Linked DNA regions of Homo sapiens: all the other regions are linked to region 1. The links are contacts of gene promoters, found by promoter capture Hi-C in human tissues and cell types (Jung and others, 2019). All regions are on one chromosome and are shown on one strand. Each heading gives the region's core, a stretch centred on a gene start or on the middle of the fragment in contact. The rest is flanking DNA. Distances are from core to core; before and after follow the strand shown.

Region 1 (4,374 bases), core at 946-3,445:
GATCATTTCTGAGAAACGTTTATATGCTAACTTGGATTAAATATCCACAAAATCCAAGTTCGGCAAACTCTCTTCAGGCTTTAAAATTCCCAGCTCTACTGTCACACAGGCTGTTCTCAGAGCTTCAGGCCTGGAAAGCATGGCGGAAAGACAGGGCAGCAGAACTCCACCTGCCAGTCACCCGTTGACTCACCATGAAACAGGTGAGTCCGCCTCACTTCCTCAGCTCCACAGGATCCAGACAAAGCAGTCCTGGGCTCCTGAAAGCCTTTCTCCGAAGCTAGGGGTACCGTCTTTAGGGAGTTGGCAGGTCAGTGTAGGTACCAGTTTTGCCACAGTTCTACTTACAGGAGGGCTCTGGACCTTCCCACTCCTAATTCCAGCATGCCCCCTTCCGGGAGAAGGTGGGCTGTGTTCCTTTGCACATTTGCCCCAGTTAAGGAGAAACACCAAACACATATCCACTGAATTCCAAGAGCCATCAAAAGAGCTCTTGAGCTGGGCAGAACCGCAAGCTAGAAATTCCCCAGGAAGAGAGAGACTAAGAGACTCAACTCAGGCCTGCCAAGCTCAGGAGGCCTGGATGGAAACGGATGGGTGGTGGGGGATCAGATTTTTTGTATTCCTTTAAACCACGAAGACAGCTGAGGGCAGCCTGGGGAACAGTGTTAAAGGATCTAGGAGGTTCTGCAAAGGAGTGAATTCTGGGCGCATCAGATTCTTTTCCCGCTATCAGCTCACAAGCCTTTCCGGACCCTTTTACTATCATTGCTAAATGGAACTTATTTCACCAGTTACAAGAGTCTGGAGGCCACGGAGCAAAGCTAGAAAGGCCAGGGTTCTGAGAGTTGGATACTTGTCCTCACTCAAATTTTCCTGGGCCCTGGGCAGGGCCGGGCCGGCCGAGAAGCACAGCCAGCTCGACTCAGCCGAGTGTTGGCCTTGGCTCCTTCCCTACACCTACCTACCCATTCCAACCCCCAAATGGCAAGGACCTCTAAAGCCTGCAGCCAGGAAAATCCGACCCCACCGTAGTGAGTGTGCGCACGTGGGTTTTAATTTTGTCCTGTCTCAACTCCGTTGTCTCCCTGCTCAATCTGACACGTTCCGAACCCTTCAACCTGGGAAGGCACCTGGCGATACTGACGCACAGTCCCGTCGTTTGGCTGCCCGGAGGCGCCTTCCCTGCGGGCGCGAGTGCCACTCGCGCTGGGTCCAGACTCAGCCGGCTTCTCCCGGGAGAGGAAGCCCCGGCCTGGCGGAGAGTAGGAAGGAAAGCCCCGACAGGCCCACGTCCCAAAACTTTGCCTCCAGTCCTCCCAAGTGGAGCTGCAGCTGGCACTCCGAAGTTGCCCCCGCGCCCGGCCAAACTCCCGCACCTCAGACGCTCTTACCTGGCTTGGCGAGCTGCGCCTGCAGAGCCCCGGGCTGCGGCTCGGCAGTCCAACGCAGCGCGGCGGCCGCGGCCAACTCGGCAGCAGGGCGCGGCGGCTGCGGCTGCGACGGCTGAGAGGCTGGCGGCGGCTGCGGGGCGGCGACGGCGTCCCCCGGCGGCGGGGGCCCTGGCAGAGCGCGCAGCGAGTCGGGGATGAGGCTCTCCAAGCTCTCGTTGGCCTGCTGCCGGCGCAGCGCCACCTGCGCAGCCATGACCCGCTGCCGCTCGATGATGAGGATGCACTTCTCGCAGGTGCAGTCCTTGAAGCGGCAGTAACGCTTGTGGCCCTTGAGCCAGGACAGGACGCCATGGTTGCGGCAGCGCGCGCACTTGGGCGTGCGCTGCAGGGGCGCCCGTGGCGGCTGCGACACCGGGCCGCCCATGTACAGGTAGGGGGAGCCGTAGCCGTTCATGCCCCGGGCTCCCGAATGAGTTGGCAGCCTGGCTGCGGGAGAGGGCCAGGGAGCGCTGGACGGCGGGGCTGCGAGGCCCGCTCAGGGGCGGCCTCCGGGCGACGCGGCCCTTGGTCCCGCAGCCCCGGTGGTCGTGTGTGCTCCGGGGCGGCCGGAGGTGCCGCAGTCGTCTCTCCAGCTCCCTTCGCGCTCACAGCTCGGCCTCCCAGCTCACGCCCAGCCAACGCCGACGCGGGCCTCTGCCTTGGGCGCGCAGCCGGGTCGGCACGTCCTCCTTCGCGGAGGCGCTGCGGCGGCTGCAAGGAGCCGGCGACAGCTCTGATTAAGGTCTGAGCCAGCTCTTCTGCAGCTCCCTCGTGAGCCGGCCGGACCCAACACCTCCGCCGCCCTCCCCCAACCCCTCCTCCTTCCCACCGCCACCCCCGCCCCTGGGGTCCCTGTCTCCTTGCACTCCCCGCCCCACGCCTTCCTCCTCCTTTGCGCCCCTCGGGTGCCTGCACTTCACCTTCCTTGCCACCTGCAGCCAGGCCACTCTCGCGGGGGCGCTCGCGGCCCCCTCCTCCAAGCCCTCTCCGCTACCCCAGCCCGCGGCTGGAGACTGCGGCGCTCCAGAACGCGGCGGTGCTCGCGGGGCGGAGAAGGGGAGGACCAGCGGGAGTGAGGGTGGGGGTGCCTGTAAGCGAGTGAGGTGGCCGCTCCGCTTCTCTCTCTTCTCCTCCCTCCAGTCCAGATCTGGCCGCGTTTTTCCGAGCCCAAGGCCGCTTTTATCCCGACATTTGGCCGCAGAAGCTCAGCTCCGGGAGAACTCGAACCTACGGGAGTGTTGCGGTTGCACCCCGGACCTGGGTGGAGTTTAGGATAGGGGAGTGAAGTGATGTTGGTTTAGGAAAGTTAGGCTCTTTTCGTAATTTCCTTTTAGAACGTATTTTTTTCTCTTTTGTTGCTTTAGAAGAAAATGGTTTTGGAGATCTGCCGGCCCAAGGATGACAAGCCATTTTGCAGGCGAATTTTACTTTTCTACCCTCCTGTCCATGTTTTAATATAAAACAGTATCCTGAAAGGTCAGGGACGTACGTGCTCCTGTAAAGGATTTGTTAAGCGCCGGGTATAAACTTTCAAGGGGCAGACACAGAAGCCACATTGGCGCCCCCAAAGTTACCGATATCCTCTTCCCTCGCTCCCAGCAGCTACTGGAAGCAAACGGAGGTCTTGCGCCAGCCACTCAGTTCAAATCCCCACGGATTCTGTGATTCAGTTATGGATATGGGATGGGGCCACTTTTTCACCTCCTTAACCCATAGACCCCAGTCATAGATGTCTTGGGGGAGAGGGTCCTTCACAAGATGACAGCAGAAAACTTTGTTTAGATTATTTGCGTGTTCCCATTCTCCCAGGAGTAGCGGGCTTGGCCTAGTGCAGACTATCGCTATATATGCACAAAGAAGGCCCTCCACCCTCGCACCTCCCCACTGCCCATCAGCAAACAAGCAAAAACCAAAAAACAAACAAACAAACAAAACAAGTGGATACACTGCAGGGCAGCACAATAGCTCTATGCGAAGCGGGGCAGTTCCAGAGCCTTCGGTGGATGCGCTTCTGAGAGCGTGCACCAAGCCCATCTCCTGGTGGGGAATCAAATGCTAGATGAGAGCGTAGGCAAGTCCGCTGCAATGTCCGACCCCTCATGGGCACAGAGGCCCTTGTCCCCTCGGGGAGGCCGCTTTTCTCTGTACTGCCCTGGAAGTAAGCAAGCAACCTGAAAACTTTCCTCTGGTGTTTGCCATGAATTCAAGGGAAGCACCTCCAGGCGTTCTAGCAGCCAACCCTCTGCCCAGAAGGCTGATTTGCGGAGAGGAGGGTTGAAAACCGAACCCCAGTTGTGTGTTTCCCTTGAAGCCCTTAGCTGTTCCCGTTTCATACGCGTCCGGGAGGTGGGGATCGCGGGACACTGACCTGGTAGAGTGTGGACAAGAAGCTCTAGCATTCGAGTGCTAACCCTGGGAGGCCATCCTCCAAAGCCGCGTGGGGTAGGGACCCCTCGGTCTTGCCCCTTCCCCCACCACTTTAATCCTTCCTCTAGTCTCAACCTTCTCTAGGAAAACAAGCCCTAAAATACAACTGGAAGGAATTTTGTAAGCTCTGGGGACGGGAGGCAGAGGTCGCCCCCAGCCCTGTAGGCCCGAGGCTAGGAAATGGGGAGCTGGACGCGAGTCATTTAACGTGCTGCGATATAGAGGGCCTCAAATGACACCTTAACTGAAAACTATTGCGCTGAAACCTCCGGATCTCTTGGAAACGTGGGGACCAACGACTTTTTTCAAAACCAAATTTCTTCCGATTTTCTTCAAACAGTGAAACGAGGAAGTATAAAGAACTTGAGTATGAATAAATTTTTAAAAGGAAAGCAGAAGAGCTCTGCACCAGGTTTGTGGGGGCACTTTCACTACCAAGGCGACCCCTTTTCCCCCGTCGGTCACCTAGCCACCCTATCTCGTTGCCACTCAAACAGTCTGGCATTTGGTCCCG
Region 2 (4,142 bases), core at 1-2,500, 760 kb after region 1:
GGAAATAAAATCGTCAATAAAGCTCGATATGCCCTCTAGAAGACCTTATCGCCTTGTTTTTCTAGGCTTTTAATTCCTTGTTCAAACCTCTTCACACACTAACAGCACAAAGATGAACCTACGGTGGAATCCACCTTTCACAGGCTCAGCTAAGTGAAGATTAACAAATCGGACAGCCCTGTGGGCAATAGAATAAGTTGACACTTTAGAATGAGTTTCCTATTATCTTTTAACTAGACAGTCTAGCTTTCTCAGGGCAAGACAAAAATGTCCCAATTACTTGTCAGCAGTTTTTAGTGGAGGAAAAACTGCAGTTAAAGCACCTTTACTGAGAACTTTGAGCAGTAAATGTGCTTACATATTTAGTTTGTGCAACTTTGATTAGGAATTGGATGGTGAGTTGGGATCCCCCAGTCCTTAGCTTTTTGCTGGAGTTCTGTAAATCTCAAAATGTCAGCCACAGGCCATTTCTTTTGGTTTATTTAAGTGTAGATTTTTTAAAAAATCACTTTTTCCACTTCATGGCTCCTTTGGACCAGGGTATAAAAATAGCGATGCCACCAGGAGCCAAGCTCTTTCTGGAATAATGAAGCAGGCGAGGACGGAGCCTTGCTCAGGACGACAGAAGGCTTGCAGCCTGCCTCAAACGCAACTCTAATTTCAGCCACTTCACTTCTTCCCCCCGCGCTCAGACTTGCCTCAAAGGAAGGAGCCGTTTATGAGACACTCCGTGGCGCGCCCAACACGGTTACCCAGGCGCCTATCACCCTTCTGGGACCCGGCCACCTGTAAGAACCTGGAGGGCGGAGCGGGCGAGGTTGTTCGGGGAAGGGATCCCCGGCGGCTGAGGACATCCAGGAGCACCGAGATTCTTGGGGAGGACCTCGCCGGGCCCAGCGCAGGAGCCGCCGCGCGTCCAGCGGCTCCACCGCCGCAGCCTCGGGAACCGGGCGCCCCAGGTCTCAGGCGCGCCCCGCCGCGGACGCGAATGGACTCGTCCGGCCTCGGCCCCTGCAGCGAAGCTCCGCTTCACACCAGCGCTGGGCTGTCCGGCCGCAACCTGCGCGCCGCGGGGGGCGTCTTACCTGTTGATCTTGAGCGCGAACGCGCGGCGCTCTGCGCTCGGCAGAGTGGCCATGGCCCGCCGGCGGTTCGGTGGCTTCTAGGGTCGCGGGGTGCGGAAAGCGGGGGCCTGGCGCGCCGCAGAGTAGCCGCGGAACATGCCCAGCCAAGCGCAAACCTCGTCTGTCGGTCGGCGCTGGAAACTTCCGCATTTCCACCTTCTAAGCCGAAATCACCCCGGGGGAGGGTCCGAGCTCGGAGCAGCGACGGCCGGCTCCGCCACCCGGCCTGGCGCGCAGGCAGCGGCGGGCGAGGAGGGCGTGGGCCCAGCGCGGAACTGGCCTCCCGATACTGGGGCAGACGGCGCGCTCTGCCCGGGGCCGCCGACCTCCGGCCGAAGGGAGCGCGGGCGGACGACAGGCGACCACTGCGCGCAGGCCGGAAGCTCCATCTGCCCGAAGCTGCGAGGCTGCCAGGGAATGTAGGCAAGTCGGGGGAGCCCCACAAAGCTGGCGAGGTCGGGAATCACCCCAGGGATTCGTAAGGCTAGGTGTTATTAAGGGTTGACACCATTCTCGAAGAAGGCAGCCAAAAAAAAAGACAAAAAAGTTAGTGGAATCTATCAGGATTCAAATCAACTTTTGCAAGCAATATGCCCATCATCCTTCCTGAGACACTAAATAAATATAATGGATTCATCCAAGGAATAAACATTATGAGTTCTCAAAAAATGTTTTCGTCACAACCTGGCGTGAATGCTTTTCTCCGGAGAAACACTGAAGGCGGCGTTCTTGCGATTCAAGGGTACGCTGCGTCCAGGTTTATTTCAGTTTCAGACTGAGGTCTGCTAAGAAGCCCGGCCTCAAACTCAAGATAAAAACAGAAAAGTCCCAGTGTTGACGGGAGTGGAGGAGCCCGTGTTCGCTTCAAGGTGCCGGCGTGCTGCTCTAACCTGTGCTATATATACTCGAGCACTCTCCATATAATGCCTCCATTTACCAACTTGCTCTTAAAAAATACCAAAGCAGGCCGGGCGCGGTGGCTCACGCCTGTGATCCCAGCACTTTGGGAGGCCGAGGCGGGCGCATCACGAGGTCAGGAGATCGAGACCATCCTGGCCAACGTGGTGAAACCCCGTCTCTACTAAAATACAAAAAATTAGCCGGGCGTGGTGGCGCACGCCTTAGTCCCAGCTACTTGGGAGGCTGAGGCAGGGGAATCACTTGAACCCGGGAGGCGGAGCTTGCAGTGAACCGAGATCTGCCACTGCACTCCAGCCTGGCGACAGAGCAAGTCTCCGTCTAAAAGAAAAAAAAAAAAACAACCAAAGCGAAGTATTTTTGGTTCAAACCTGCACTATTTAATATGATAGCCACTAGCCACATGTGGCTATTGACCACTCGGCATTATGGTTAGTCTGAATTGCCCACTGCTGGATGTGTAAAATGTACACTGGAATTTAAAGACAGCGCAGAAAACATCGTGTAAAATGTCTTGTTAATGATTTTCATGTTGATTGCATGTTAAATGATACTTTGGATATAAAAAATATATTATTAAAGTTAATTTCACCTGTTTGTTTTCCCCTTTTAAAAATGTGGTTTGCATTTTTAAAAATGTAAAATTACACATGTGGCTCACATTTGTGAGCCTCATTATATTCCTATTGGACAGTGCCAGTCCAATACAACCTAATTTGTCACCTAATACTAAAATCCACCTAAGGACTATATTCAGTCTCTTCCTGATACAGCCTTCCTTCCTGGTTTCAGCTGTGTCAGGTAGTTTAGTAACTTTTCAGTACTGGTTAGGTAACTCCCCGCCCCCCAATGCCCACCAAATATCAGTGCCCTTTTAAGCATATAAGACAAAGTTCACTGCATAGACTACAATAGACTACATACGAAAACAAACCCAAAGAAAAATAAAGCTTTTTTGAAATTTAGAGTTTCTGACTTTCAAAACTGTCCTTATTTACTACATTGGAATTTATGAGCAAACATTTGGATAGCAAAATACAAAGAGAACAAATGTGTAAGTACTTCTTCAAACTGAGACTCAACGAATGATACATAGAAAACATTTTGCCCCAGAGGCTTCGGTCCACGGTGTACCATGTCAGCCTTTCGGATGAACTCCTCTGAATTTCTGAATGTTTATGACATACATTTTCATATAGAACAAAAATATACTGGTTTCACACAAACATAAATAAAATGTAATGAAAGCATCTCAGATTTTCAGCATTTGCAATCAAGGAAACTTTTTGGGTGAATGTGGGAATCATAAAACCTTCCATCTTGCCTCAGATCATACTGCAATAGATTTAGTATTTGGTACCTAACCATGAAGGTTAGGCCAGCATTATTATCCTCTGTGCTGTCAATTTCTTGATGGTTAGAATTGTCTCCAGATTTCCTTAACACTCTTTTAACAATTCACCATGAATGTGTTATCCATTAATTTAGTCAAATGCCTGTTTTCAAGTTTGATCTGCTGTTAGATACATTCACATATTGCTGGCAAATAGCCATCCAAGTGCCTTTCTTCCTTATTCTCACTGCCTCTTTCGTTTTCCATCAGCCCTCTGTCCAGAGAGAACTCTGGGAGGCCTCCTTCTTTCCGCATCTGATGGTCTCTCTTGGCCTTCCTCTTTCTCCGTATCTTTGTGTCATTCAATTTTGTTTTTCACCTTTATACAACTCTTCCCTTGACTTCTATCTCAGACCATACATCAATTATCCTAAATGCTCTAGTTTTCCCCACATCTTCTTCTTACCTCCCCAGAAAGCCGACCTCTTTCTCTACATTGCATCTTACCTATTTTATTGAACAAACAACTAAATAACACTTATCTTGTACCGGGTACTGCTCCAAGTCCTTTATAAAAATTAATTCATAGCAACCATTAAATAATAACATTAACCCCCCCACACATACCTCTTTGCAACTGGAGAAACTGAGGCTTAGAGAAGTTAAGTGACTTGACCAAGATTACAAACTAGTAAGGGCAGAGCCATTTCCTATCCTAAAGTTTTGCCTATTTCCCAGATTTCTGTACTCTAACATCTTCAAACTCC
Region 3 (4,374 bases), core at 624-3,123, 710 kb after region 1:
CGAGACTTTGTCTCAAAATAAATAAATAAATAAAAATCAAGGTTTAAAAATTTGTTGCATGTAGAAAAACTGACTTTGAATGATGCAGCTATCAAAGGGTTAGATCATTGTGCATGGCATGGATAAGCTCTGAAAACACACATCTATCTCAAGAGTGAGTAGTTCCTGGAGTTGACCACATAAAAGAAATCTAAGGCTTTTTCTGAGATGCATTCTTGGATGCTTTTAGTAAAGTGCACTTTTAAAAGTGTACAAAATGAATTTCTGTAGCAAACTTTATGTATCTATATATCTACACATATATCTATAGATCTCTATCCATAACTGTATCTCCATACACTCATATACATATATGCATACATATTTTCAGCCATAAAGTCTAGAATAAATTCCTTGTAAGTTCTTCAGCCTGTGGCCTCACAATGGATTATTTCAGGTTTTATCGTTTCTCATATTCTCTATCTCTTCTCATAAACAGACAAGCCATAACTGTACAACTTCCATAAAACGGATTCAACAGGTGGAAACATGACTACAAAGAAAAGTTTGCCCCTTATTTGGAAGGCATGGAACTTATGTTTCTTCCTCACAGGGGTGTCCCAAATCCCTTTCACTGAGAAAATTCCTCTGAAGACAGTAGAATGTTTATTAGATGACTTAAGTGTTTGAGGGTTCCAGCAGCAAGACTAGAGAAGGATTTCTCACTGTCTTCAGAGACATCTCCTCTCCCCAGCTTTTATATGTCATCATATAAGTTTCCTTCTTGATATAATCACCATCTGCTGATGAAGCAGCATAATCACCTAAAAGAACACCTGTAACCATTTAGTGTCTTGTGTTTAAAGAAAAGAGAGTCTTTCCAGAAAAGTGTGTTGAGTCATAAAGTAACAGATGTAACCTGTGTAAGCTGGATCCCAAAGGAGGAGGAGAGATGAAACTGGAGCAGAAGTAATATTTAAAGAAATACTGGCTGGCAAAAATACCAGACGCAGCTTCATAAAGTTCTATAAATGCCCATCAGAATCAATACAGAGGAAATCAAACCTAGACACATCATAGTAGAACTACTGAAAGTCAAAGAGAAAAATCTTTAAAACATCCAGGGAAAAGACACATTATCTTCAAAGTGTAATAATGCAACCAACAAAATTAACTTCTCAATTGAAAAAGTGAAATCCACAAACCAATGCAATGACATCTTCAAAGTGCTGAAATAAAATAACTAACAATCTAGAATTTTCTACCTAGTGAAAATATTCTTCATAAGTAATGAAGGAAAAATATTTTACCAGATAAACAAAAATGGAGAGAATTTATCACCAGCAGAGCCATACTAAAATAAATAGTAAGGAGAGTTTTTGAGGCAGAAGAAAAGCAATCCCAAAGGGAAACACAGAAGTGCTGAAAGCATTGAAATACACCAAAAGGGTAAACATAAGTAAATCTAAATGATAGTGACTGTGCAATATAAATATAATAATGATAATAATGTGAAGTTTAAAATATACATAGAATTAAAACATCAATGATACACAAAAGGTTTGAGGGGTAAACGGATTTCATGTGTTTTAAAGCCCATATTATATCATCTGGGAAATGGTAAAAGTACTAATTAATACTAGGATTCTAATAAGTCAAACATGTATTGTTGTAATGACTATAGCAACAAGAAACAAGTGGGCAAAATGGAAAAAAAAACCTACAGTAGGATTGAACATTTATACCCAAATATATCAGGTTTTTTTTTTTTCCTTTTGAGATGGAATCTCCCTCTGTCACCCAGGTTGAAGTGCAGTGGTGCAATCCCAGCTCACTGCAACCTCTGCCTCCCCAGTTTAAGCGATTCTCCAGCCTCAGCCTCCTGAGTAGCTGAGACTACAGGCACCTGCCACCACGCCCGGCTCATTTTTGTATTCTTAGTAAAGACGGGGTTTCACCACGTTGGCTAGGCTGGTCTTCAACTCCTGACCTCAGGTGATCCACCCGCCTCGGCCTCCCAAAGTGCTGGGATTACAGGCGGGAGCCACCGTGCCCTGCCTATATCAGTTATTAAATGTAAACAGATTAAATTCTCTAATTAAAAGACAAAGGTCATCAGACTACATTTTAAAAAATTGTTACTTATAAGAAGCACATTTTACTTTTAAAAACAGATTGAGTATAATTAGCTGGCAATGAACTGCACATATTTAAAGTATACAATTAGATAAGCTTTGACATACGTATAGACCCATGAGACCATTACTACAATAAAAAAGTTTCTTCATGCCCCTTCTTAATTTTTACCCTCCGTCTCCTGGTAACTACTAATTTGCTTTCTGTCACTGTAGATCCTTTGCATTTTCGAGAATTTTACATAAATAGAATCATACAATATATCTCTTTTTTTGGTCTGGCTTCTTCCATTCAACAGAATCATTTTGCAATCCATCTATATTGCACTGTGTATTAGTAGTTTACTCCCTTTTATTATAGAGGAGTATTCCTTTGTATGGATATAACATGGTTTTTTTTAAATCCATTCATCTGTCTATGGACATTTGAGTTGTTTTCAGTTTTTACCTATTACAAATAAAGTTGCTGTAAACATTTGTGTTCAAATCTTTATATGGATACATTCTTTCATTCCTCTTGGGTAAATGACCAGTTAAAGTGTTTTACAACATGGTTGTATACTCCCATAATCAGTGTTCCAGTTTTTCCATATGTTCAACAATACTTGGTGTTGTTAGTATTTTTCATTTTAGCCATTATACTAGACATGTTGTATGTGGTGGTATCTCATTGTGTTTTTAATTTGCATTTCCCTAATGACTAATGATGCTAAGAAAGTTTTCATGAAGAGACACTTTATTTATTTATATTTAACTTTTATTTTAGGTTTAGGGTTACATATACATGTTTGTAACATAGGTAAATCGCGGTGTCTTTCTTTCTTTCTTTCTTTCTTTCTTTCTTTCTTTCTCCTTCTTTCTTTTGACACATTTTAAATATAAGGACATAAAAAGACTGACAGTGAAAGAATTTAAAAAGTTATGAAACCTAGCCAAAAGAAAGCTGAGGTAGCTATAGTACTATCAGACAAAATGGACTTTAAGAAGCATTACCGAAGAGAGAGACATTTCCTAAATAATCAAAGGGCAATCCACCAGGAAGACACAACAATTCTAAATATGTATGTACCAAGTAATATAGGCTCAAAATATATAAAGCAAGAACTGCAAAAGTAGAGGAAAAATATTACATCCACAACTACAATAAAAGTTTCAAACATACTTCTGTTCTATCATGCAGATTAAAAAAACCCAGAGATACACAGAGCTTGAACATGATAAACAGACTTGTGCTAATTGACATATACAGAAAACACTATGCCTAACTTCAGAGTACACATTCTTCTTGCACACATTAAACATTTACATATTGACCATATCCCCGACCATAAAACAAATCTTAACAAATTGCAAAGGTCCAGAAATCATATAGAGTAGCTAGTCTGATGCCATGTAGAACTAAACTAGAAACCAACAAAAACATACTAGCTCTAAAACATCTAAATATTTGTTTTTGCAAATAACATAATTTTAAGCATATCTTTCTTTCCATTTATGTGCCTGGGCTAAGTAAGTGGATTTTAAAAAATTATATAAAAACCAAAAAGAAAATAGCCAGAGAAGAAAACTACATGTAATATTTAGACATAGTTATATAAGCTATTCTATTTTTATTTTGAGCATGTAAGATATTTTGCAATTTTAAATATAAAAAGTATAAAAAAGCATATTGTACAATGTCTCCCTCCTACTCCTGTCTGCCAGGTACCCAGTTCCCTCTGCATAGACAATCTAGGTAATAATTTCTTTTTTTTTTTTTTTTTGAGACGGAGTCTTGCTCTGTCGCCCAGGCTGGAGTGCAGTGGCACGATCTCCGCTCACTACAAGCTCTGCCTCCCGGGGTAATAATTTCTTGTGTTTCCTTCTGTGCATATAGAGTTTATAAGCAAATACATGTATACATTCTTTCCCACATTTTTATTTACACAAATGGGAATACAGTACTTGAGAGTCGTCTATGTTGTAGTGTTCACCCATTGTTCATTCCTTTTTATTATGGAGGAGTATTCCACTGTATGAATACCACAATTTCTTTATCTGTTTGCTGGTGATCTTCATTTTGCTTTATTCACTTAATAGATAAATACATAATAATTCCCTCATTCTTTTTTTACAGCTGCATATGTATTCTACTATAAAACTGGGCAATAATTTCTTAACTAGTCTCTTTCATTCATTTCTGTTGTTTCTAGTTTTCTGCCAGCACAAAAAAATTCAGAAAACTGTACATGTGAACTCATACATGTATAAATATATCTGT
Region 4 (4,374 bases), core at 481-2,980, 650 kb after region 1:
AATTTTCTTCAAAACCACTCAGGCACAGGGATCATTGTCCAATTAGACTGACAGACTAAACTTGCTACCATACACAGCAAATGTAGCAAAATAGGAATTTGAACCCATTTCTTTGAATGCCAAGTTGTTTTTTTAACTGGATTGTAAACTCTTTAAGATGGGAAATTTAACATCTGCAAGACTTCTAAAGTGCTAGGCTCTCTGCTTTGTGTTTTCTCAAACTATGTGGCCCTTACATAAGGATAGGCCCATCGCAACTTATGAAATATTTAAATTGGGCACGGCATACCAATTTTTAAACAATTTTTGAAAAGTTTCCAATTCAATCCCATTTTCACTCTTCTTTCCTTGATTGTAAAACAAATTCTTTTTAAAAAAAAATTTCACAAAATCTTGAATTAAACTTTTAAGCGGAAATAATCCCTTAAAGCCGTATTATATGCAACACCTGAACTAGATGATGCTACCTAAAATACAGTAAAGACCCTGATGTTCGGCCTGGGAATATAAACAAAAAAGAAAGAAGCCCCTCTTACCAAATAATGTCTGCCTGGATGTGCTAAATAGTTTAACACCATTTACTATATATTTAAAGGGAAAGAAGCAACAATGATGGCATTACGATAAAGAAAAGCAAACAGAAAGCCAACCAGGGGCTGTCTTGCTGAGTAGATTTCAATTTCTTAAACCTATCCAAACACTTTAGTATGTTTGTTATGCCAAATGAACACATTTATACATTTGAAAATTTTGGAACATATTTAGTAAGTGATAGGAACCAATGGGTAACCACTGTTACTTGGCAGAATATGACGGATTAATCAAGAGAAAGTCATCCACTGGGAAGTAGAGTTTGAGATAAAATTTGGCTCTATAGAACTAGTGTTGGCTTCTTCAGTTTCCTAGGCTGACAGAGAATTGTGAACTTACCTACAGGGCTATCATAGTGGGCTTTAATTTTCCTGTATGTCTAAGTAATATTGCAACGAAAAGGAGACACATTGAAGTTTGACAACAATAGAAGTGTCTTTTCAGCAATATAATTTTAACTATACTTCTATAAGCTTAAATAAGTTCCCCTCAAGCTACAGTAACCTCTCATAATCTTTGTTATATGGTGTTAAAGAAGCTAGAGTGAAAAGACATTTGCCATCTGTTAAGTGACCTCAAAGCTACCTGAATTATTTGGAATCCATGAGATCATGGGGCGATCACTGAGACTACAGACATAAAACACTGTACTAACTAGATAATGTTCCAAACCTAAGAGGCTGGGGGCACATGAAATCAGACACCTGAATTTGTTGTTTTGTTTTTACAATGATTTTACGGCCGGGCACAGTGGCTCACGCCTGTAATCCCAACACTTTGGGAACCAAATACAGGTGAATCACCTGAGATCAGGAGTTTGAGATCAGCCTGGCCAACATGGTGAAATCCTGTCCCTACTAAAAATACAAAAATTAGCCTGGTTTGGGGTGGTGGGCTCCTATAATCCCAGCTACTCGGGAGGCTGAGGCAGGAGAATCGTTTGAACCCGGGAGGTGGAGGTTGCAGTGAGCCGACATGGTGACACTGCACTCCAGCCTGGGTGACAAGAGCAAAACTCCTCTCAAAAAAAAAAAAAAAAAAAAAAAAAAGAATCAATAAGACCAATTATCTGGCCTAAGGTAGGTAAAATACCTGATGTTTGTTAATTTCTAACCAGTCATTTTGGTGTACAGAGAAAGGATCTGGTTTTCTTACAACAGCAAAGAGTATAGCCTAGAATGAAAGGCTCTTCTACTTACAATTGCCCCATAGATTTCAACTCTCATTAGAGACAGTCTGTGACATGGTAAGAAGAAAAAAAAAAAAGGAGGATGAAACTTGAAAACCACAGCCCACGCTTCAGCTTGTAAGAGGCTGGACTTGGGAACACGTAACTATGCATCTCTAGAGCAACATGAACATCGTTAGGAAACTCTAGCCCAGAGATTTTGTTCCTTTCTCCACAGCAGCTTCTTTGCACCAGGTCACTGAGGGAACTCTCCTTAATTAGGAGAAGGGTGCCCAAGATGTGCCAAGCTTTATTCTGTAGTCATGACTATCCACTGAGGTCAGTGTGATTATCTCCACTTCACAGATGAGGAAACTCAGTCTCAGAAAGACCAGGAAACTGCCAATGCCATTTAATTACTAGGTTGTAAAGCCAGGACTCAAACCTAGGTCTGTGTGTCTCCAAAACCTAGTCTTTCTAGTATCTGAAACAGTTTACTTAGAACGGAAAAGGGGTAAACTGAGAAGGAAACAAAGTGAATCTCAGAGGATATGTGGACACATTCTGAGATTGCGTGCACCCCAAACATGTGCTGGGAACAACACAGCAATGAAAACATCAGATTGGGCAAATCAGATCGTACTGAATTACCTTGACTACCAGGTAGATGTCTGAGGACGGGTAGGTGACTGAGAAGACTGCAGATCTCGCCTGACTTGATGCGGCCACTGAAGGCGTGTGAGCTCGCAGAAATCCTTTGAACTGGTCAGAGTTCAGGTCACAGTGAAAATTTTCTGAGATCTGTAAATGAGCAGCAAAGTGAAATATAAGTTAGACCTGTTGCATTCATGGTTTAAACATGTTAAAAAGGAGTAAAAACACCACAGAGAAATTTTGCTGAAGGAGTAAGTGTAATAATCACAGATGTGGTTTAGGAAAGTGGCTCCTGGATAAATCTGACAAATGTTTTGTCACAATGTCTAGGTATTCTGGAGCCATTTGAGAGATGTTCCTTGAAACATTTAAATGTTTATTAACCCACCGGTATTTCCTGAGTATCAGTTACTTCACTACAGAAGAGGAGGACCTCTGCTCTCAATTAATTCACAATCAAGAATGAGGGAAGGACTGGGTGTGGTGGTTCACACTCGTAATCCCAGCACTTTGGGAGGCCAAGGCGGGCACATTGCTTGAGCTCACGAGTTTGAAACCAGCCTGGGCAACATGGTGAAACCCTGCCTCTACAAAAAATACAAAAACTAGCCAGCATGGTGGCATGTGCCTGTGGTTCCAGCGACTTGGGACGCTGAGGTGGGAGGATGGATCACTTGAACCCGGGAGGCAGAGGGTGCAGTAAGCCAAGATCGCCCCACTGCATGCCAGCCTGGGCAACAGAGTGAGACCCTGACTCAAAAAAAAAAAAAAAAAAAGGTGAGGGAAAAGGTAAACATGTAACTAACTACAGTAAAAGCAAAATACAAGTCACCACATGCATACAAAGAAGCACTGTGGAAGTTCCAGAGTGACAGGCCATTTGCAGTTGGGTGACAAGGACAACTTTTCATGGAAGCAGCACTGGAGATGGATGGGCCTTAGAAGATTCTGATAGGCAGGGGTGGAAGGTGATGATGTGCCAGGGAGAGATTAGAGTATGAATAAATATCTCAGAGGCTTGAACGGCTGGGGGAAGCTTAGTCAGCGGTCTAGCTTGACTCTGCATAGACTATGGATGGAAAGAAGGTAGAGGAATGCCATCATGAAGAAAGCCTGGTTGTAGGGAATGAATCTTAGTGAAGATTCTGAGCAAGAGCATGATGTGAACAGTGCTCCTGGCTCTCTTAGTGTCGTATTACTTAAGAGCCACTGTATGGTTGGGTTCTCTCCTTCATCACCATGAGAATTTTAGTGGTGAGTGGCTGCCCAGGCAGAGACTACATTTACCAGCCTCCTTTGCAATGAGGGGTGATCATGTGACTCAATTCTCTCCAGTGAATTGTTAGCAGAAGCAATGTATCAAACTTCCAGGCCTCCTCCATCCTTCTTTTCTCTTCTTCAGGGGCAGCAATGGCAGTGACAAGAGTAATTTGGGGAGAGAACATACTGAAGATGGAGGAGCCACTGCCAGCCTGTATTTCTGAGTGGCTGCGTGGAACAGAGGGGTCCCTCCTCCCACCCTGGATGGTTAAAGAAACAAAGACAGCAACTTCTTGCTTATAGGCCAGCGGTTTTCAAAATGTGGTCCCCTGACCAGTAGCTTCAGCATCAGCAGGGGACTGTTAGAAATGCAAATTCTCAGGCCCCACCTGGACTTGCTGAATCAGAAACTCTGTGGGTGAGGTCCAGCAATCTGTGTTTTAACAAGTCCTCCAGGAGATTGTGATGCATGCTCAAGTTTGAGAACTACTGCTTTAAACCACTGAGATTGGGTTCTGCTTGTTTTAGCAGTTAACCTATCCTACAAATCTCAGTGATTATTAATATTTATGCAGGAGATGCTTGTTTCCTTAAATACAGAATGATTATGGGTAAAGAAGGGCAGAAGTGTCCATCCTACTCTGGATTTGCTATTGCTGTCCTCTTCTAGGAGTCACAAAATGACTAAACATTAAAAACAC
Region 5 (4,374 bases), core at 1,134-3,633, 630 kb before region 1:
GTCCAAAAACTGATAGCATTCAGCATCACCTGGATGCTCCTTGGAAATGCAGAATCTTGGGCTCCACCCCAGACTTGCTGAACCAGCATCTGCATTCTGGCAACATCTTAGGTAATTCATATGCACTTTAAAGTATGAGAAACACTGATCTAGCACACTCATCCAGCCAAAGCCTACAGGACTGGAATTTGATCTGGGCTGTTCCAGTCACTGTAACACTTAAGTTGCAGAATTAAACCAAACACACGACTGACACAGAGTGGGTAAACCCTGTGTGTTAATTTCCCTGCTCATCCTGTACAAAATCTTGTTCAGTCCTGGTCAGCCCCCAAGAATGGACTGGTTTACCATTTCCTCCCACTCCTTTTAGCTTAAATGGGTACCCTTCATTCTTAGAAAACATCCACAAACTTTGGCCCAGAAAGGCCTTCTTGGTCCATGACGCATGATCATCTTCTCACCCTCCACCTTCCTTTTGAGGATTTGGAAAGGCTTTCTCCCGGGGGAAAAAAAATAAGCAAAGAAGAACCTGGTTGTGTTTTTCACACTGCCTGTTTGAGGCTTTCAAAGAGCATGAAATGCAATTAACACCAATGTGAAATCCACAGTTGTTCATTATGAGATTATTCAGTGCTATTGTTACCTGACCTATAAGCAGCTGTTGTCAAGTAATGTAAATTGTCACTGGGATCTAGAATTATTATATACAAGTGAAATAAATCTGCCTCTTGGACTGGCATGGTAAAGAATGTTTCCCTCCCCTTTCTCAATCCTCACCATAGCCAGTCATGTTTTGCCATGGTCACACGTCTCACTTTTCTTTATGCGATTCACTTCTTTTAGTTTTTTTCCCCAGGGTTCTGCTTTATTAGACATTTTTACTCCTGTGACCCAGGCTTTTTGGCCATTGAAGACATAGTAAAGAGGTTAATCTGAGCTGAAATAGATCAGATCTGTTACACTCATTCTGATTTATCTGACTCCTTTGCTGGTTCACCAGCTTGAAATCTTTGGCCCTGATTCAGGCCATGTCTCTGGTAGAAAGGACTTTTTTTTTTTTTTTTAATTTTAAAGGTTGCTCTGTTTTCATTACAGATATGGCTGAATCTGAAAGTGTCACAAACTAAAATGCATATATTAAATTTGATAGATATTCCCCCCTTCCAGGGCCATAAAAATGGAAAGAAAAGCAATTTAAGGAGTTTTTTCAACCTTCTGGGACACGCACTGGAAAATATATTAGGTTTGTTGGACTTATTTTTGTTTTTGGGTGCTGGAGACCTGAAGGCAGCAGTTGTTTTTTGCATATGCTGATATTATTCCGACCATGATAAATACAGACGTGCTGCCTTCCGGACACAGAGAGGCACTGGTATTCTGCACTGCAGGCCTGGACTCTCTGGACTCTCCCCAGTGTAAGGATATCGGAGCTGCTTTGCAAAGGGAGGGCTCTGGAACCAAAGAATACCAAGAGTTGGTAGAAATCCTGCCCTGAAGGCAAAGAAGGAAGAAGACAAAAAGGGGACCCAACCTGGAAAATCCCTTGCTCCTGGTAGAAGACTGTCATCCTTCTCAGGTTTTCAGGCTTGTCCACGATTTTTGAGGTCATTTTGGACTGCTTATCATAAACAAGCTGATTTGAAGATAATTCCACTTGGGTCTTGGTGGGAATTAAGTACACAAGTATAATGAGTCTAATACATTCGAAGAGAGTTTTTCTGATAAGATGATGAAATCTTTGCCACTGATGAGTTTGGTTGTGAATTGCAAGCAGGAATAATGCTGGATAATTTAAATTTGAATTATATTGATTACAGCATGATTGGTATCCTCGGTTATATGCAACACAGCAGCTGCTCCTAGGAGATAAGGATTTAGTTACCTTACAGGAGCATATGAAGAGAACACTCTTGGCCAGAGCAATCTGGTGCAGCTCAGCACCAGATTCTTGAGTCTCAGTCACATAACCTTATCTCCAAAGAATTTCACTCTCAGTAAGAGACAAACATCCCAACATTGTTGGAGCCAGAATCCCAAGACCCATGGAGACATAACAGGGTATTAACTCCCATGTTTCCTTCCAGGGCTTGTGTCTTTGGGTAAATGGGTGTCAGCAATACCTTTATGATCTTAAATATCCATTTTCCATAAACCAATACCTTATCCCAGCTAGGGCTGCAGAAGCTGGGTCTCAGGGTTGAATGGAGAGGAGAATTATGGCTCCATCTTTCCTCACAGAAGAAACCTTGAAAAAGACGTAGGAAGCATCAACACCTCAGTTTACCTTATAAGCTTTCCTTATTTTCCAGAGGTTGAGAGATCTAAGAGACTGTCAGTCACAAAGGTCCTACTAAATCAATGTTCCACACTTGTAGCTCTGCTGTGTCAAAAGTCCTGGCTGTTCCCAGGAGAAAAAAAAAAAAAAAAGCATGCCCAATGTTACTCACACATACAATTGTTTTGAATCCACTTGTCTGCCTAACTTCAAAGAAAGTCTTTGTTGACAAATTAGTCCTCAGTAGTTTTTCACTTGGCCTATAAAGTGATTCTAGCTGTGGAGACACTGAAAAGGTGGCGTCAGGGCATTCTCCACACATCTTTCATCTCCATCGAGAGTGGATACTCGAGCTTCCTGTTTTAGAGTCTGAGACATAATTGCTGGGGGGAAGTGACGGATGGATTGCACACTGGCTCTGAGGAAGCTGCACATGCATCAATGTCTCATGAAGCTTTTTGGTTTTTGGGGTTTTTTTTGAAAAGATAAAACTAGGAGGAACAGTTGTTTGTGTAGTTTTATTTTCAAAATGCTCCTAACGTTGAATAAAAAGATAAGGCCTTTAAAAATACCACCATGACAATTCTGAAAGTTATAGGGTAAGCCACATTCTCCCATTTGGTTGTGAGTAACAGTCTTAAGCACCACAGACCTGCTTCTCTGCTGTTTTTTTTATTAATTCTCTTTTATGATTCCTATAGGTAACACAAGGCAACTGAATCGCCAAAGCCTTGTGTGAGCATTTATAAACTTATAAATGGATAGTTTCCAAAGGTCACTTATAAGTTGATATATTTTAGAAGTTAGAGCCTGTTCCACAGAGAAATAAGAATATAAATTATGTTTATGGCTTCTCAAAATCTCCTTAACACATAATGTGTTTATGAGATTCTATGCTTGCTTTCAACAAAATAGATAATAACAACAAAAATAATACAATAACATTTTCTACTCTGCATATTATTTATTGATGAAAACACGCTTTAATTAGAGGAAGATGTGGAAGCAAGTGGAAACTTTAGTGGAGATAAGAATAATTGGACACTTTCTAAGGCTTCAGTATATAATGGCAATTGGCAAATTTCAAAGCTTGTGGTGTTATTTATTTAATCAGATGTGTTAACCAGTCATGTTTATCAGACCATGTCAGGTTCTTCTTTTTCCTTTTTTAATCTCAATTACAAAAAGAAGAAAAAGAAAATGAAAAGAAAGGAAAAACAAAAAAAAATCTTTTTTCTTGATGTCTTAGGTAAATGCTAGACAAGACATGGTACAAATATGCAGTTACATAAGAAGCTGTGGGTCCATATGAAAAAAAATGGTCTAAAGTGTGAAATGAGCTGACCTGTGGTCAGCAAAAGTGTTGAAAATCATGGCATACAACCTTTACATACGTTCCTTAGAAGAACGACCATTATGGTAAAGCAGAGATTCTCAAAGTGTGGCTCCAAGACTAGCGGCATTGCTTTCCTAAATTTCCTGGGAACATGTTAGAAATGCATATTACTGAGCCCCATCCTAGATCTACTGAATCAGAAACTCTAGGAGTGGTGTCCAGCAATTTGTGTTTTAACTAGCGCTCTTGAAGATCCTGCAGGCTGCAGATTGAGAAGCACTAAAGAAACAGCATTAGAGAGTTTCCTGTAACAACCACTAGGTGCCTCTGTTGCTCAGGACAGACTAGTTTAATGAGGGAAGTTAGGGGTTCATAGCACAGAATTAATGCCTCTCTTAAGCAGTTATGTGGATGAGGATGACTTATCTGTTGCCTCAATTTTTTTAAAGTAGTCAGTAAGAAACTAGAAATAAATACACAATCCTAACTGGCCAACAAAATTTACAGGACGTTTCCAAGTTTGTTTTTTATGACTAGAATTTGTTTGCAAAAATGGGAATTTTTATTAACCTGCAGAAAACATAAAATATGTGTTTTTTATACTACACTACCAAATATTGCTACTATTACCTTTAAAATTTCACTTAATTCTCTCTTGGCTTAGACACTTTAAATTACAGCAGAACTATGCTATGACATAGTTGGCAAAATTAGAAATTAACCCAATCTGGGATTCCACTGCTTTTTTCACCCACCATTGCTG
Region 6 (4,374 bases), core at 480-2,979, 610 kb before region 1:
TCACACCAGTTAGAATGGCGATCATTAAAAAGTCAGGAAACAACAGGTGCTGGAGAGGATGTGGAGAAATAGGAACACTTTTACACTGTTGGTGGGGCAGTAAACTAGTTCAACCATTGTGGAAGTCAGTGTGGCGATTCCTCAGGGATCTAGAACTAGAAATACCATTTGACCCAGCCATCCCATTACTGGGCATAAACCCAAAGGATTATAAATCATGCTTCTGTAAAGCCACATGCACATGAATGTTTATTGCGGCACTATTCGCAATAGCAAAGACTTGGAACCAACCCAAATGTCCATCAATGATAGACTGGATTAAGAAAATGGCACATATACACCATGGAATACTATGCAGCCATAAAAAAGGATGAGTTCATGTCCTTTGTAGGGACATGGATGAAGCTGGAAACCATCATTCTCAGCAAACTATTGCAAGGACAGAAAACCAAACACCACATATTCTCACTCATAGGTGGGAATTGAACAATAAGAACACTTGGACACAGGACAGGGAACATCACACACCAGGGCCTGTCGTGGGGTGGGTGGAGGGATAGCATTAGGAGATATACCTAAAGTAAATGAGGAGTTAATGGGTGTAGCACACCAACATGGCACATGTATACATATGTAACAAACCTGCACGTTGTACACATGTACCCTAGAACTTAGAGTATAATTTAAAAAAAAAGAAAGAAAAATGACATTCTCAGTAAAAACATTAAGTTTTGTGATGTTTCAACTTACCCTATCCCCATCTTCCTCTTCCCATCTGTGGTAGCCTTGAAAACCAATAGCCTTGTAATTATCTTGAAACCAGTAGTCTAGCAGCCACTGGAGAATGTATTTGGGGTTGGAATTCCTACAAAGCTCCATTCTCACCTGTCATTATTTGGCCTGTCTGGCATTTCCTTGGAAAATCCTACTCCCAATACTTGTCTGTATGTGACCTGTGTTAGAGCTCTTTCAGTATAAACACAGTTTTGCCCAGGGATATTTGTTGAAATAATTAGTGGCAATTGCTTCAGGTTGTGAAAGGACGTGTTGACCAAAACACTTTTTAAAAAGCTTGTCGGATCCATCTATTAAAGCATAGGAAAGATCTGACATTTTCCTACGAATCTAGAAGGGCCCTCACATGCAGAGACATGTTCTTGCATAGGGCTACGTACATACTCAAGAAAGACCCAAGAAGGCCCTAAATTCTCCACAAGTAAGAAGTAAAAGCTGTATATGTGCCACATTTTCCTTATACTATGCAGCCATAAAAAAGAATGAGTTCATGTCCTTTGTGGCGACACGGATGAAGCGAGAAACCATCATTCTCAGCAAACTAACACAGGAACAGAAAACCAAACACTGCATGTTCTCACTCACAAGTGGGAGTTGAACGATGAGAACATATGGGCACAGGGGAGGGGAACACCACACACTGGGGCCTATTGGGGATCAAGAGGAGGGATAGCATTAGGAGAAATTCCTAATGTAGATGGCGGGTTAAGAGGTGCAGCAAACCACCAAGGCACATGTAAACGTATGTAACAAATCTACATGTTCTGCACGTGTCCCAGAACTTGAGTATAATTTTTTAAAAAAAAAGGGGGGGGAAGAAAACATTTTAAATAGTATATACAAGCAACATTTGCTATGACTGTCCTAGGTTATCTCTGGACAATGCTTGTGATAATGTCAGCCCTATGACAACTAACCAGCTCTCAAGAAACTATCACTCTGTTCCTTGCCCCTGCATGGGCTGATACTGGCCCTAAATAGTGTACATGTAGAATTTCTTGCTTTCAGCCCCTCTCATTTGGTCCTGATAATCCTGTCTTCCTTCTACAGCAGAACTTCAAAATAAGAACTATTATCTTCATATACTGCTTGAGGAAGTTTAAATCATTCTCTCAATATAAACCATTTCACCCATTTGCTGGTTCAGTGAAGTGATTTTTTTCTTTTGTCAAATTTTATCTTTAACATCTGTTGAGATTTTGGCACAAACTTACTTCTAATGGTAAACTTGGGCCCAGAGAAATTGCAGTGAGAAAATACAGCACTTCCCCAAACAGCCCACTAACATCATGATTTCCCAATTGTCTGACATTAATAAATGACATTCTGCTGTCACTTTCTAAATAACATAAAGCTCAATAAACATTTATGTATGGTTTTCATTACAATGATCATATATTATTAATATTATGACATAGACTATATGCTCTTGAAGTATATCAGAAGTTTATATTTTCAGCACTCAGTTTCCCTGTCACTGGCTGAAAACATTAAATCACCCTATTGTTTTTAAAAAGAACTATTGTTTAGGAGACACTAAGCTTAGTGAGGGGTAGCACTATGTTTTATTCATTGCTCTATTCCAAGTGCCTGATATAGTATATGATACACAGAAAAACCCTTTGATAGATCAAATAAATTAATCTACTACAGCTATTCTATTTTAGTTTGCTAGAGTCCAGTAATATCAATTCATTTCCAGTAAGAATAATGAAAATGGAAAGTGGTTACTTAATGCTATTCTGTGCACAGAATTGTGCTGAGGTTACATATGTGTCTCATGACATCCTCTTTAGTAATGCATGTTTAATATTGTCATTTGACAGGTGAGGAAACTGAGGCTTGGACCAGTTTTGGAGTTTTCCTAAATTCATAAAGCTAATAAATAATGCTACCAGTATTAAACCCAACTTTCATTAAGTCCTAGGCTCTTGACAACGGACCCTACTTCTATCCCTAAGACTTTGCTCAATCAGGCCTTTCAGTCCCCGAAGTCCATATGGAAGTAGAGCTATTCTTTTATGGACCATTAGTTTGATCTTATCACTAGAACACTGACTTCCTGTTAGATTCTGATGCTGGTATATCTCTGGGTTTATTCTTCTTATTTTAGGGACACTAAGCTCCTTGCTGAATTTCTAAGAACTGAATAAAGCATATTCTTGAGAATTTCTAGTCTCTTATGCCTTGATTATTTTATCTCTTTTTTCCTTACCTTAAATTTAGGGTATTTTACAGAAATAGTGTATTATTTTTCTATTGTTGCTCTACCAAATAAACAAATTTTGTGGCTTAAATTGACATAAATTTATTATTTTACAATTCTGTAAAAGTCCTACATTACCCAAATAATTAGTTTTGGCCCACCAAAGTAATCAAAGATAATCTAACTTAATCGTATCTCCAAAATCCCTTTTGACATTTAAAGTAACTGTATTCACAAGTTCCAAGAATTAGGTTATGACATCTTTGCAGGAAACATTATTTTGCTTATTACAGATAGTTAACCTGTCCTCTATATTCCATAGAGGATTTCTTAATTGAAAATTCCTTTTAATCATTATAAGACTATTCCACCCAATTCAATTCAGCTTATTTCTTCATCTTATTAATCTTTCATTGTCCAAGGGGCAGCACAATAGATATAGAAAAGCCAAAATATAAGAAGTATATGTTGTTGCTCAGGACCTCAAGGTATTTACTAACTTCTGGGATAGATGTGATGTAGAATTAACTAAATGAAAAAGAGTGCTGAGTTGTGTCTAGAATTAAATATGCAATATAAGGTTTTTATCCATTTGATAACTTCAAGAGATATGATTTTAAAATCACTCTGGCTTATGGAATATAGCAAAATGCTAAGAAGGTATAGAAAAGTTAATATTTTTTATTTTCACTTTCAATTTGGTTATGAGATGTGCTTTAGAGGGAGGAACTGAATCTCCAAAAGTAATAAATAACTTACCAAAGGCCATGCAGAAAATGAATTGAAGAGCTTGTATTTAAATCCAGTTGTGCCTGACTCCAAAGTAAATGTTCTTTTCATTTATGCCTCTAGACATAACTAAATAGTTAACTCAAAAAAAGATTATTATTTTTTACATTTCTAACTGGTCATTAAGCCATTGTTTTATTAAATTCATCTATATACTCCAAGAAGATATAGTCTTATATGTTTCTGTGTAGGGTGAGGCTAGGTGATGAATTTTCAAATACTGAACTCTGTTTTCTTTGAAAGTGAAGCACTTTGTTTTATTTAGTGTGTGTTGAACAATGACTTTCCAGACACAACTGACAAGTTTTGTTTCTGGTTATTCATCTGATACCTACCACTTTAAAACTGAAAAGTGATATGTTGGCTTCAGCTCGTTAACAACAGCACCTAAAAGAAATATATGGTATGCCTGACAGACATCCTTTTTCAGTAACTGCTATAAAAACAAGCCTAATAGACTCAAAATTGTTATGGAAAAATTAATCATAGTGGATTAAGTGGAATCATTTTATGATTTCCACAGGCATTTCTTCTTAAGTACCTGGCCACAGTTTTCTTAGCTATATAAGGAAATATAAACTAAA
Region 7 (4,374 bases), core at 1,242-3,741, 600 kb after region 1:
CGATCCTGCCATCTCAGCCTCCTAGAGTGCTGGGGTTGCAGATGTGAGCCACTGCTCCAAGCGATCCTGCCATCTCAGCCTCCTAGAGTGCTGGGGTTGCAGATGTGAGCCACTGCTCCAAGCGATCCTGCCATCTCAGCCTCCTAGAGTGCTGGGGTTGCAGATGTGAGCCCCTGCACCCAGCATAGGATGTTTTATTTTGGATTACACTGCAGTGGGGTGGAGGTGGTGTTGCCCCGCCCACCAGAGTCCCACACTCAGGGCAACTCTACCTGACTTGGGCACATCCCTTTGCACCTCTGGCAGGCGGAAGACGTAGTGCACGTAGGAAGCCAGCAGGCAGTTCCTCCCATGCTGGTCCTTGCTCAGGTCCTTGCTGTTGTGCAGACTGTTGGCGATGGCCACCACGGACTCGAAGGCAAACTGGGAGAAGTTGGCTGAGGAACCAAGAGAAAAATGGGTAGTCCCACAGCTGGTCCTTAAGGAGCCTGAGGTGGAAGTTTCTCCAGGACAGTGACAATGAGTCCTGACCGCTGACCAATTTAACTAGGCCTGGGAAGGGTAGATGGTTTTGGTGAGCTCTGGCATGCTGGCTCTGAGTACCACAGATGCCTCCACATTCCCTCTTTTGAACTTCCTCCTCCTGCCACTGAATAGCATTGATGGTTTTTAATGACAAAGACATAAGACTGTCCAGACGTCCTCCTTCTCTAAGCCAGGTTGTAAACTGATGCTACTCAGTGGGGGCTGCGGACACACACGACCACTATCACCTGCTTGCTACTAAGAAATGCAGAATCTCAGGCCCCACCCCAGAGAGTGTATTAATCAGGTTCTGCATCTTTACAAGATGCTCACGTGACTGTTGTGGACACTATGATTTGAGATGTGCTGCACAACCCTGATTCTTGTACAGATTAACCTAAAAATGTCTGCATATCAAGTCATTCCCACAGTGGGCCCATACACATTTGATTTACTGCATAGAACCTCTTGTTCTGGTGCCCTAAGCCTCTATAGTTTGGCTCCAATATACTTATCTAACCTTGTACCCTTTTTGGCTCAGTTCGACATCCCTTAAAATGAGGCAGTCATTGTATTGTCCCATCATGCCTGCTCTCTTACCTCTGAGACTTTGCTCATGCTGTTGTCCTCGCCTAGGAAGCCCTCCTCACTCCCATCCACAAAATCATACCGACCCTGTGAATCTCAGCACAAGTCCCACCTCCTCCATGAAGCCGTCTGACTCCACACAGTACAGGGCTCAAGTGAAACTGAGTTACATGATTCTCCAGCCATGTCTGGTGGTAAACTGTCTGTCTGTGAAAGCTGGAATCCTTCCCATGCGAAGTGCATTTCTCACATCTTTTGTGCCCCCACTGTGCTTTCCATTGCAGAGACACAGAATAGGTTCTGAATAAATGCTTGTAGACTAGCCACCTCCACTTATTCTGCCTATGCCAACACCCTGTGGTCCTCACACCACAAGGTGGCAACTTGCTATGGAGAAGCTGCTCAAAACATATAAATATTTTTGTCTGGTGAACAAGTCTGTATTAACTAGCTGGAACATACAAAGCAGTGTGCCACATATGCGGGGGCACAGAAAGTAATCGAAGGAGGGCAGAGCTCTGCAAGAATCTAGCTGGAGAGGCAACTGCTACATGGATGAAAAGTTAGCCTCCAACACAGGACGTTTGATCTGTGGAACCACAGAAGATGCATATCAGGGTGCAAAGCAGAGTGAGAGATTAAGGGGACATGCCCCTCCCTGGCTCTAAAAGCCGTCTCACTTCATTGTCCCAGCCCACTTCCACACGTGCTTCTGTTCCACCACCAACTGTGCTACTGACTTTCTTCCTGACACTCCCACACTTTTCTGGTTCTCTGCAGTGCTGCACTCATCTCATTGCCCCTATTCTGTCGGTTTTCACTCTATCCCTTCTTCAAGGCCATCTCTTTATGTGGACCTCCTGCATCCTCCCAGATGGATGTTTTCTCACTCTCTCCTTTGATACCACCCTCCCCACAACCACTGCAAAATTTAGCTGTGTCCCTTTGAGGAGTCTTGTCCTGTGCTGCTGACTCTTTGCCATATTATAAGTCCTCTGAGGTCTGAGATGCTCTTGGTTATTGTCACAAAGCCTACAACTTTTAGTACAGTACTGGGCATATGGATGGTACCCAAAAGACGTCTGCTGGACTGGAAAGCAAAGAGCTATATAGGCACAGCTGAAAATGGTGGCAAATAAAGATGCCCTATACCAGCCAGTCTACCCTGGAAGAGTTAGGAGAACCACTGGACTCTGGTCATGCCTCCAGGATAAGCTTTTGAGATTATTTCTAAGGGAAAATGTACACATTGTATTTAGTGTTAACTTGTTAAAAGTAAGCATTTAAAATAGACTGTAAGAGAGAACGGATGAGTTCTAGGGGGAGGGATGAATAGGGAGTGATGGGGTTTTATTTGGAGGTGATGAAAATGTTATAAAACTAGATTGTAGCGATCATTGCACAACCTTGTGACTATACTAAAAACCAATGAACTATACACTTTAAAATAGTGAGTTTATGTTTTAACTTTAAAAATTGATTGCATTGCATTTCAATGTAGAGAGTTCCTTCCCTCCATTTAACACAGGTTGTCTTACCTTAAAATGTTCCATTTCCTGTTAGTCAAGAAAACAAAAATATCTTCAAGGTAAAATAAATTCATCAATTACCAGAAATGGAATTTTAAAGACTGCCTATAATCATTTAATAAAGTTTACAAAAAGCTATAATATTAAGAACCCTATTTTAATGTTTCTTTTTCTTTCCAACATGCAGAGAGTCTCAAAAAAAAAATAGCATAAGACTTGGCCTCCCTTGAGCACACATCATCAGTGGAAAGGAAGATCACATTGTCTCTGGATTTCTGGAAAGTCATTTTTCATTAAAGAAGGCAATGCTTGCTTGCTCCTGCCTCCTCCCAGCCCAGCCCTGCAGGTTCATACCTGTCTGGCCAGCGATGACCATGGGCTGCACGGACAGCTGGAAGAGCTTGTCCAGCACCAGGTGCAGGAAGAGCACGAGCGGCTCCAGGCGGGAGGAGTTCAGGCAGATGATGCTGAGCTTCAGCTCATGCTCCAGCGCCATCTCGCTGATTTTCTGATCCAGCACGCGGATGGGGAAGGTCACCTGGCTCTCCAGGGAGTGGCAGAGGGTGAAGAACTTCTCCAGGTGGTTGTCCTGCGAAGGGAGAAGGCAGGCCTCATGGGGTTTTATACCATCAATGTTCACCAGTGGATTCACAAACACAATCGAATAGCTCTTTATGGGTAGAACCTCTTATCCAGCGTTTCAGACCAGAAGGTCTAAGACATGATGTTTCAGACCGAGGCTATGAACTTCTTTGTAGAATGTGGTGCATGAAGTTGAACGTTTCAATAATTATTAGCTAAAGAAGAAATAATTTTGGCTCTGACATGTTCTGTAAGCAGAGGTCAGCGTACCAGGTAAGCATACTGCCAAGAGAGAGGTCTCAGCAGATGCAGAACTCAGACAGTGGCAGGTAAAGGAGAGAGTACGGAATTTCTTTTTAAAAGCTGGCAAAGTGGCAGAGTTACAGAGGGAAAAGAAGTAACAGCAGATGAGAGTTTCAAATCAAGTCCCCCTGCAAAGTTTCTCCACCAACAGTGCAGATACTAGGTTCTTTCCTTTAGGTGCTCGGCGGTTTTGTAAGGTCTTTCTATTCCAATGACAAATGAAACCTAAAGAGGTTTGCATGTCCCCACAAAGAACTAAAGGGTTATTTTTTATTTATCTGTAGACAAGGATTTTCACTGATCTTTTATTGGCCTGTCCTTCAAAGGCTCCTCCGCTGCACCTTTACCTTCATGATTAACCTTGACATTCCTTACCTGGGTGTGTACAGAAGAAACAGCTTGCACTTCAATATTAAATACTCCCTTATGTCCTTCAGCCCACTTAATGGGAGGATTCTGTAATGGGACTTTCTGTGTTAAAGAGAAAAAAAAAAGATTAGCAATCCAATTCCCTTTTCTGATTACTAACAAGCAATGCAGACCAACTTGACTGGAAATGTCAGGGTTATACAAATACAGAACTCTCTTGAAAACTAATCTAACTGTTCTTGGAGTCAGGAGCCCTGGATTCAACTTCAATTCTACACCAAACTAGTTAATATTTATGTATTTATTCATTCCTTTTGAGACAGGGTCCCACTCTGTCGCCAGGCTGAAGTGCAGTGGTGCAATCACGGTTCACTGCAGCCTCGACCTCCTGGGCTCAAATGATCCTCCCGTCTCAGTCTCTGGAGTAGCGGGGACTACAGGCACACACCACCACACCCAACTAATTTTTCTATTTTTT

Evidence for each region. The method cuts DNA at HindIII sites, captures the fragments that hold promoters and counts their contacts. A contact is called where the count stands out against the background at its distance.
Region 2: a contact is called between the fragment with the promoter of DOCK8 here and the fragment with the promoter of DMRT3 in region 1, in 5 of the 25 tissues and cell types used here (heart left ventricle, heart right ventricle, mesendoderm cells and 2 more).
Region 3: a contact is called between a fragment that was not itself captured here and the fragment with the promoter of DMRT3 in region 1, in 6 of the 25 tissues and cell types used here (IMR-90 fibroblasts, adrenal gland, aorta and 3 more).
Region 4: a fragment that was not itself captured here is called in contact with the fragment with the promoter of DMRT3 in region 1 in 4 of the 25 tissues and cell types used here (IMR-90 fibroblasts, aorta, dorsolateral prefrontal cortex and 1 more).
Region 5: a contact is called between a fragment that was not itself captured here and the fragment with the promoter of DMRT3 in region 1, in 2 of the 25 tissues and cell types used here (hippocampus and lymphoblastoid cells).
Region 6: a fragment that was not itself captured here is called in contact with the fragment with the promoter of DMRT3 in region 1 in 3 of the 25 tissues and cell types used here (H1 embryonic stem cells, dorsolateral prefrontal cortex and mesenchymal stem cells).
Region 7: a contact is called between a fragment that was not itself captured here and the fragment with the promoter of DMRT3 in region 1, in 2 of the 25 tissues and cell types used here (lymphoblastoid cells and mesendoderm cells).

What each region holds. Positions count from the first base shown.
Region 1 is chr9:974,476-978,849 of GRCh38, reverse strand. It overlaps DMRT3 (doublesex and mab-3 related transcription factor 3), which reads right to left and starts at 2,195. Exons shown (of 2, transcript NM_021240.4): 1 at 1,395-2,195. The coding sequence starts at 1,848. RefSeq lists enhancers at 2,028-2,527, 2,528-3,029, 3,562-4,374. The HindIII fragment of the contact is 20,406 bases long and covers 1-4,374 here.
Region 2 is chr9:211,973-216,114 of GRCh38, reverse strand. It overlaps DOCK8 (dedicator of cytokinesis 8), which reads right to left and starts at 1,250. Exons shown (of 48, transcript NM_203447.4): 1 at 1,086-1,250. The coding sequence starts at 1,138. DOCK8-AS1 (DOCK8 antisense RNA 1) reads left to right here and starts at 365. Exons shown (of 1, transcript NR_160804.1): 1 at 365-2,658. RefSeq lists silencers at 776-915, 1,086-1,135, 1,186-1,235, 1,246-1,495. The HindIII fragment of the contact is 11,669 bases long and covers 1-4,142 here.
Region 3 is chr9:260,589-264,962 of GRCh38, reverse strand. All of the region lies in intron 1 of DOCK8 (dedicator of cytokinesis 8), which reads right to left. Among named protein-coding and RNA genes, the nearest start is that of DOCK8-AS1, 47 kb to the right of the region's middle. The HindIII fragment of the contact is 9,940 bases long and covers 1-4,374 here.
Region 4 is chr9:326,208-330,581 of GRCh38, reverse strand. It overlaps DOCK8 (dedicator of cytokinesis 8), which reads right to left. Exons shown (of 48, transcript NM_203447.4): 9 at 2,411-2,560. Among named protein-coding and RNA genes, the nearest start is that of DOCK8-AS1, 110 kb to the right of the region's middle. The HindIII fragment of the contact is 5,602 bases long and covers 1-4,374 here.
Region 5 is chr9:1,604,710-1,609,083 of GRCh38, reverse strand. No RefSeq gene overlaps it. Among named protein-coding and RNA genes, the nearest start is that of SMARCA2, 410 kb to the left of the region's middle. The HindIII fragment of the contact is 3,037 bases long and covers 865-3,901 here.
Region 6 is chr9:1,579,773-1,584,146 of GRCh38, reverse strand. No RefSeq gene overlaps it. Among named protein-coding and RNA genes, the nearest start is that of SMARCA2, 430 kb to the left of the region's middle. The HindIII fragment of the contact is 5,889 bases long and covers 1-4,374 here.
Region 7 is chr9:375,834-380,207 of GRCh38, reverse strand. DOCK8 (dedicator of cytokinesis 8) reads right to left here. Exons shown (of 48, transcript NM_203447.4): 19 at 3,903-3,998; 20 at 2,997-3,231; 21 at 273-437. Among named protein-coding and RNA genes, the nearest start is that of DOCK8-AS2, 92 kb to the left of the region's middle. The HindIII fragment of the contact is 6,287 bases long and covers 1-4,374 here.